Regions from separate parts of the Homo sapiens genome. Here region 2 is linked to region 1. Evidence: promoter capture Hi-C in human tissues and cell types (Jung and others, 2019). All regions are on one chromosome and are shown on one strand. Each heading gives the region's core, a stretch centred on a gene start or on the middle of the fragment in contact. The rest is flanking DNA. Distances are from core to core; before and after follow the strand shown. Region 1 holds the start of SNUPN (snurportin 1). Region 2 overlaps PPCDC (phosphopantothenoylcysteine decarboxylase).

Region 1 (3,792 bases), core at 1,071-3,570:
TCCCAAAGTGCTGGGATTACAGGTGTGAGCCACCACGCCCGGCCTTTTTTTTTTTTTTGAGACAGGGTCTCACTTTGTCTCCCAGGCTGGACTACAGTGGTGTGATCTCGGCTCACTGCAGCCTCCACCTCCTGGGTTCAAGTAACTCTCCTGCCTCAGCCTCCTGAGTAGCTGGGATTATAGACATGCACCACCATGCTCGGCTAATTTTTGTATTTTTAGTAGAGAAGAGGTTTCATTATGTTGGCGTGGCTGGTCTGAAACTCCTGACCTGAAGTGATCTGCCTGCCTCAGCCTCCCAAAGTGCTGGAATTACAAGCATGAGCCACTGCACCCGGCTTGAGGTGTGCCTTAATATCTTTGCAATGCAACCAAGGGTTGCCATTCCTGAGTGACTGAGGCCTCATGATGAGTGCTTGGGATCCATATGGTATGTTATTCAAATCATCCATAATGGTATGTATGCTATTGTCTCTACTTTTCTGTACTTTTGTGTAAGTTTGAAAGCTTTCATGATAAAATTTTTTTTTTTTTTTTTTTTGAGACGGAGTCTCGCTCTGTCGCCCAGGCTGGAGTGCAGTGGCGGGATCTCGGCTCACTGCAAGCTCCGCCTCCCGGGTTCACGCCATTCTCCTGCCTCAGCCTCCCAAGTAGCTGGGACTACAGGCGCCCGCCACTACGCCCGGCTAATTTTTTGTATTTTCAGTAGAGACGGGGTTTCACCGTTTTAGCCGGGATGGTCTCGATCTCCTGACCTCGTGATCCGCCCGCCTCGGCCTCCCAAAGTGCTGGGATTACAGGCGTGAGCCACCGCGCCCGGCCGATAAAAATTTTTAAAAAGTCATTATGTTTTCAGTTCATCACCAAAGTAATGACCAAATCCAAAGCACCTTTATTAGGCCTATCATGCACTATCTTGGTGTGGGCTCCCGCTCTGCCAAGAACCACACAACCTTTGAAACTGATGTCCTGGGCCTGGCGCGGTGGCTCACGCCTGTAATCCCAGCACTTTGGGAGGTTGAAGCGGGCAGATCACCTGAGGTTAGGAGATCGAGACCATCCTGGCTAACACAGTGAAACCCCGTCTCTACTAAAAAAAAAAAAAAAAATACAAAAAAATTAGCCAGGCATGGTGACGGGCGCCTGTAGTCCCAGATGCTCGGGAGGCTGAGGCAGGAGAATGGCTTGAACCCGTAAGGCGGAGCTTGCAGTGAGTCGAGATCGTGCCACTGCACTCCAGCCTGGACTTCGTCTCAAAAAGAAAAAAAAAAGAAAAACTGATGTCCTGGATACTGGGGCGGTTCCTTTACCTTCCTTCAAGGCTGTTCTTGGCGGGTTCCTGCTGTTTCGTTTTGTTTTTTCTTTGTTGTTGTTGTTTTTTTTTTGAGACAGAGTTTCGCTCTTGTTGCCCAGGCTGGAGTGCAGTGGCATGATCTCGGCTCACTGCAACCTCCATCTCCCGGATTCAAGCGATTCTCCTGCCTCAGCCTCCCGAGTAGCTGGGATTACAGGCACGCGCCACAACGCCCGGCTAATTTTTTTTGTATTTTTAGTACAGATGGGGTTTCACCATGTTGGTCAGGCTGGTCTCAAACTCCTGACCTCAGGTGATCCGCCCACCTCGGCCTCCCAAAGTGCTGGGATTACAGGCGTGAGCCACTGCGCCCCGCCGGGCTCCTGCTGTTTCAACCCATTCCTTGGATGGTGCTGCCTCCAAGTGTTCGGACCTTAGCCCCAGGTGGTCTTAGCACCAGTAACCCCCGCTCCAACTCCCTAAAGTCCGACCCGCCCCAGGCCCCGCCCACGCTCCACCCTCCCTCCCTGTCTAGCCCCCTCCCCCATCCCCTTCCCCCTCCTTCGCGTCTCCCCATCCGGCGCCCCCGCCTCGCGTCCCCTGGGTCCGCATCCTGGCAGCCTCCGCGTTTCCCTACCCCTGCTACCGGGCTCCAGCCCCGGGGACGCTATCTGCTTCACTCGGCCGTGCGCGCCGCCACCGCCCCGCACTGCCTTTTTCTAGGCATGGGGTCATCTAGGCCATGCATGATTCGCCCCTGCCCCACAGAAGTCCCTGAGGGGTCCTGGCCGGACAGCACGGAATAGAAGAACGGAAACTCTCCCAAAAGGAGTCCCAGGCCTGGCTCTATCCCTCCAGATGACGTCCCAGGAGGCCAGAGTGCAGGGCCGGCCAGAGGGAGTCACAGTCCGGCACCGAGAGGCAACTCGGCAGCTGGCGGGGCCCGGGCTCGAACCCAGGGACTCACCCAAACCGAGGTGACCGTCGCACGCGCCGCCGCCACCGGGGCCGACGAATCACCTGCCCTGGGAAGCTAGGTCCGCCCTCCCCCCGCCCCCAGCTGCTGCCTCACCGCTGGGCCCACAGGCCTCGCGCCCTGAGTTTCCGGCTCCTCCCTCCTTTGCGAACGCTGGGAGTTCCGTTGCCTACAGGCCGTTATTTCCGCCTTCAACGGCTGGGGCATTTCCCATCGGCTAGGGAGGGGGTCTTCTTGCATTTGCTTTGCACTGTCCGGGACTCTTCCTGCTAGATGACTTGACCAGGCCGAGGCCTCCCTCCTGAACACAAGCTCTTCGGGGCTCCTTTCGCCAATGGGAGGAGGCTGATCTTGTGGCCGGGCATTCAACGCCCTGGGCCCTGCCGCCTCCCGCAGATCTTCCCGGGCCTTAGGGCTTCACCTGGAGTCCCCTTCCCCTCTTGGGCCCGTGCTCTTAAACGGGCAGTGCCAATTGCCTGGATTACTCCAACTAACCCCTCACACCCAAGTTTCAGACACAGACCTTCGCTCCCCCACTTGCCCTTAACAAAAGCAGATACATACCTCGATTACTGCCTGTTTGCTGCTTTTGCGAGCTTCTTTCCCACTCGGCTGCGGGCTGAGCAATGGTAGGGACCTGGCTTGATTCCTATTTAAGTAGCCAGAGTCCAGCACAAGGGATGGCGCTCAGTAGACCCTGCGTGAAGGAATGATTAAATTGGTGCAAAAGACTAGGGTAAGCGGCAGAGATTTAGGAGATTAAGTCCTGCCAGGGTGTAGCCTCTGCAGGGCGGGAAGGCTGAGATTACAATTTTAAAACTGAATATTTATTGAATGCTTACATTCAGCCAATCCCTGCTTCACACCCATCATCTCATTTAATTTTTTTCCTTTTTTTTCTTTTTTAAGCCAGTAGATATTAACTCTTAATCATGACATGAGGAAGTAGACACACTGAAGCTCAGAGAGGTTAAGTAATTTGGCCAAAGTAACACAGCTTTCAAGGAAAATGTTTGAATTTGCTGAAAGTTTGATGTATAGGGAAGTTGACTACCGATGTATGACAGAAGCAAAGTATCCACCTTTGGCACATTTTGCGTCCACGGAATGCTAAAATTTGGACTTGTGTATTTTATGCACATTACACCATACATTCAGACTAAAAAGAATAGGAAATTAGGCTGATGAAAGGCTATTACTAGACTGGTAAAAAGGGTTCTGGGGCCCTGGAAGGCCAATTTTTCTGGACGTGAGATTTTTTTTTATTTTTTTGAGATGGAGTCTCGCTCTGTCGCCCAGGCTCTGGAGTGCAGTGGCGCAATCTCCGCTCACTGCAAGCTCCGCCTCCCGGGTTCACGCCATTCTCCTGCCTCAGCCTACTGAGTAGCTGGGACTACAGGCGCCTGCCACCATGCCCGGCTAATTTTTTTGTATTTTTAGTAGAGACGGGGTTTCACTGTGTTAGCCAGGATGGTCTCGATCTCCTGACCTCATGATCTGCCCGCCTCGGCCTCCCAAAGTG
Region 2 (4,343 bases), core at 1,089-3,588, 570 kb before region 1:
AGGGTATGAAATAAACTATAACTAAAATGGTAGCATCAAGAACCAACTTCTTTGGCTGGTTTGGGGATGGGGCATGGGGAGAACCTGGGTAACTGAAACCCGGAGACGGTCCCAAAAGTCCATTTACAGGGTTTCCAAATTCCTTCTTGTCCACATTGCCCTTCCTCTCCCTCAGCAACCCACTAGTAAATGGTGAGGCTTCCCAATTTTATTTTTATTTATTTTTTGAGACGGAGTCTTGCTCTGTCCCCAAGGCTGGAGTGCAGTGGCGCGATCACAGCTCAAGCCATTCTCCCTCGTCAGTCTCCTGAGTAGCTGGGATTACGGGTGCCCGCCACCACGCCCAGCTTATTTTTGTATTATTTGTAGAGATGGGTTTTGCCATGTTGGCCAGACTAATGTTGAACTCCTGACCTCAAGTGATCTGCTGGCCATGGCCTCCCAAAGTGCTGGGATTACAGGCGTGAGCCACCGCGCCCAGCCGCTTCCCAATTTTAACAGAAACTGATAGCATTTTCTGAGTGTTCATCGTGGGCGAGGATCTATGCCAGGGATTTTAGGGAAGGCAGTCACCCAGGGAGATCAACCACAAAGTGCCTGTGTGAAAAGGCCATGGGAGCAGGGAAGTTCACAGGCCACTGTCCCAGAGCTCTGAAAACAGCTGTGGCTGCTCAGCAGGACTGCGCCTTGTTGGCTAGAAGGGAACATATATCCCTGTGGACTCAGGCCAGCTGGAGGCCCCTGTCCCTGGGGGTTCGTCTCTCCATCTCCTACCCACAGCAGTCCTGCATCCCTGCCGCCCATTTTGAAGCGGGGGGTCTGGATGAATGGGTCTGGGCTGGGCCTAAAGAGCCCAGCTGTTCCCTGCACCAGACTGGAGCTAAGAGGAGCAGGTGCTGCATTTAGCTGGCCCCATCTGCCAAGGAGGTGCTGAGTGGGGAGTGACAATCACTGCTTTCCCCACGAGGGGTCCAAGCACTTGAAGTTACCTTCATCTTGGGGAGAAATGTTTCTCAGAGAAGATTCTAGCCTCCCTGATGATTTTTTATAGAATTCTGGAAGTTTCAGAGAATAGAACATTTGGGTCTGAAATGTGCACTCTTTTGTGGCAGCCATGAGCCCTTCAAGGCTGCTGTGGATGCTGCTGGGTGGGAGGCAGAAGCCACCAAACCAAGGCCCAGCTTCCACCCTGGGCCGCCTCCAGCCCTTCCTGCACCCCGCTGGTCAGGTGCCGCTGCTGCCTCCCCACTGCCTCAGGTCAGGCCCAGACTCCTGGGCAGTACACACCTGGCCCTTTGTGATCTGGCTCCTGCCTACCCTTCTAGCACTGCCCTTTACCACATGCCAACCCTGAAGGGCTCCGTATTCTCTTGCCAGACTGGACAACCTTGAACTTGTGAGGCCTCTTGCCTGTGCACATGCTGCTGCTTTTACTGGGATAAGACTGACTCCCACACATGCCTGTGGATGTACCTGGGTGCTACCTCCTTTGGAAAGCCTTCCCTGGCCAACTGCAACCTCCTTGCCCAGGTTGCCATGGTGCTTCCCACTATTATTTTTTATTTTTATTTTTATTTTTTGAGATGGAGTCTCATTCTTTCGCCCAGACTGGAGTGCAGTGGTGCGGTCTCAGCTCACTGTAAACTCTGCCTCCCAGGTTCAAGCAATTCTCCTGCTTCAGCCTCCTGAGAGGCTGGGATTACAGGTGTGCACCACCATGCCCAGCTTTTTTTTTCTTTTTCTTTTTTAAAATTTTTAGACGGTGTCTTGCTCTGTCGCCCAGGCTGGAGTGCAGTGGCATGATCTTGGCTCACTGCAAGCTCCGCCTCCCTGGTTCACGCCATTCTCCTGCCTCAGCCTCCTGAGTAGCTGGGACTACAGGCGCCCGCCACCACGCCCGGCTAATTTTTTTTTTGTATTTTTAATAGAGACGGAGTTTCACTGTGTTAGCCAGGATGGTCTCAATCTCCTGACCTCGTGATTCACCTGCCTCAGCCTCCCAAAGTGCTGGGATTACAGGCGTGAGCCATCGCACCTGGCCTGATTTTTTTTTTTTTTTTTTTTGTATTTTTAATAGAGACGGGGTTTCACCATGTTGGCCAGGCTGGTCTCGAACTCCTGACCTCATGATCTTCCTGCCTCGGCCTCCCAAAGTGCTGGAATTACAGGAGTGAGCCACCGTGCCCGGCCACCACTATTTATTACAACAGAATTGTAATTGTTAGTTTACTTTGTGTCCTCCTAACATTGGGTTCTCTTGGAGAGCAGGAGTTGTCCTGTTCCTTACAGAACCCAGTAAGTCACTCCAAGCTTGTACTGATCAAAAAAGTGGTGTGTGTGTTGGGGCTATTGGTTCCTGCTCCTTTCTGTGCAAGAGACAAAATTTAGCAACCACAAAAGCAAAGATTGATAAATTTGACTATAGAAAAATAGGTTCACTGAGCAACAACCCAAAGTCAAGGTCAAAGGACAACATGCTGGGGAAATTATCTGCAGCTCATAAACAAAGGGCTGATTCTCCTAATATATGAAGAACTCCTATGCATTGATGATAAAAAGACCAAGGGCCGGGCACAATAGCTCACACCTGTAATCCTAGCCCTTTGGGAGGCCGAGGTGGGTAGATTGCCTGAGCTCAAGGAGTTGAGACCCACCTGGCCTACCTGGTGAAACCCTGTCTCTACTAAAATACAAAAAATTAGCCAGACATGGTGGTGCATGCCTGTAGTCCCAGCTACTTGGGTGGCTCAGGCAGGAGAATTGCTTGAACCTGCGAGGCGGGGGTTGCAGTAAGCTGAGATCATGCCACTGAACTCCAGCCTGGGTGACTGAGCAAGATTCCATCTCAATAAAAAAAAAAAAAAAAAAAAAGAAAGAAAAAGAAAAAGGAAAAAAAGACCAAGAACATGTATTAAAAAGTGAGCAGAAGATACGAAGAATTCACATTAAAAACAAAAAAAAAAACAAAACCAAAAACCCAGTCACACAAAGGGCCCTTAAACAGCTACTCAGCCACATTCATGAGGAGAGTGGTGCAAATCAAGCTAGACCTAAAACTTTTGCCTGTTAGACTGGTGGGGGTGTGGGGAATTGGTGCCCTCATGCATTGCTGGTAGGAGCGTAAATTGATGGCAACTTCACTGGAGAACAATCTCGGAGTATCTATCAAAACTACGTATGCACCTTACCCTTTGACCCAGCAATTCTACTTCTAGGGATTTGTCCCACAGATACACTCACTTCTATGACATTATGTCTAAACAGATTTATTGCAGGCTTGTATATGGTACTGAAAGACCAGGCCAGGCACAGTGGCTCACGCCTGTAATCCCAGCATTTTGGGAGGCCAAGGCGGGCAGATTGGCTGAGCTCAGGAGTTTGAGACCAGCCTGGCAACATGGCGAAACCCCGTCTCTACTAAAAATACAAAGTCAGGTGTGATGGTGCATGCCTGTAATCCCAGCTACTCAGGAGGCTGAGGCAGGAGAATCGCTTCAACCTGGGAGGTGGAGGTTGCAGTGAGCCAAGATTGCACCACTGCACTTCAACCTAGGTGACAGAGAAAGACTCTGTCTCAAAAAAAAAAAAAAAAAATTACATATGCACCTTACCCTTTGACCTAGCAATTCTGCTTCTAGGGATTTGTCCCACAGATACACTCAGTTGTATGACATTATGTCTGAACAGGAGATTTATTGCAGCCTCGCATATGGTGCTAAAAGACTGGAAACACCCTCACTATCTAACAGCCAGGAGATTGGATAAATAAATTAGTGTGTTCCTTCATACACTGGAACTCTACACAACCATAAAACAAAGTGTTGAGGAAGCTGATTTGGGAAGACTTCTGAGGTACATTGTTAAACAGAAAAAGCAAGGTGCAGAAGAATGTCACATGCATGCTTGTGCAGAAAAAATGGGGGTGGGGAAAGAAAAGGAGGATATATTCTTATTGGCTTGTGTGTGCATCAAATGCCTTTAAAAAGATAAACAGAGAAAAACATTGTCTATTGTTTTTCTCTTGGCAGGGGAACTAACTGAGTGGTTGAGAAACAAAGATAGGAGGCAGGCCAGGACTCCGTCTCAAAAAAAAAAAAAAAAAAGATAGGAGGTGACTTCATTTTTAATTGTTGGGCCAGATGAATATACTATCTACCACAAAATCAATAAATACATTTTAAAAAGAGTTCCTTGTGGTCAGGCACAGTGGCTCACACCTGTAATCCCAACACTTTGGGAGGCCAAGGCAGAGGGATTAGTTTAAGACCAGAAGTTTGAGACAGGCCTAGGCAACACAGTGAGACTCCATCTCTACCAAAAGAAACACAACTAACTGGACATGG

What was found. The method cuts DNA at HindIII sites, captures the fragments that hold promoters and counts their contacts. A contact is called where the count stands out against the background at its distance.
Region 2: a fragment that was not itself captured here is called in contact with the fragment with the promoter of SNUPN in region 1 in 1 of the 25 tissues and cell types used here (psoas muscle).

Annotation. Positions count from the first base shown.
Region 1 is chr15:75,623,405-75,627,196 of GRCh38, forward strand. SNUPN (snurportin 1) reads right to left here and starts at 2,321. Exons shown (of 9, transcript NM_005701.4): 1 at 2,262-2,321. RefSeq lists a silencer at 1,800-1,849 and an enhancer at 2,500-2,689. The HindIII fragment of the contact is 13,243 bases long and covers 1-3,792 here.
Region 2 is chr15:75,050,695-75,055,037 of GRCh38, forward strand. It overlaps PPCDC (phosphopantothenoylcysteine decarboxylase), which reads left to right. Exons shown (of 6, transcript NM_021823.5): 6 at 1-32. Among named protein-coding and RNA genes, the nearest start is that of PPCDC, 29 kb to the left of the region's middle. RefSeq lists enhancers at 804-1,305, 1,306-1,805. The HindIII fragment of the contact is 8,061 bases long and covers 1-4,343 here.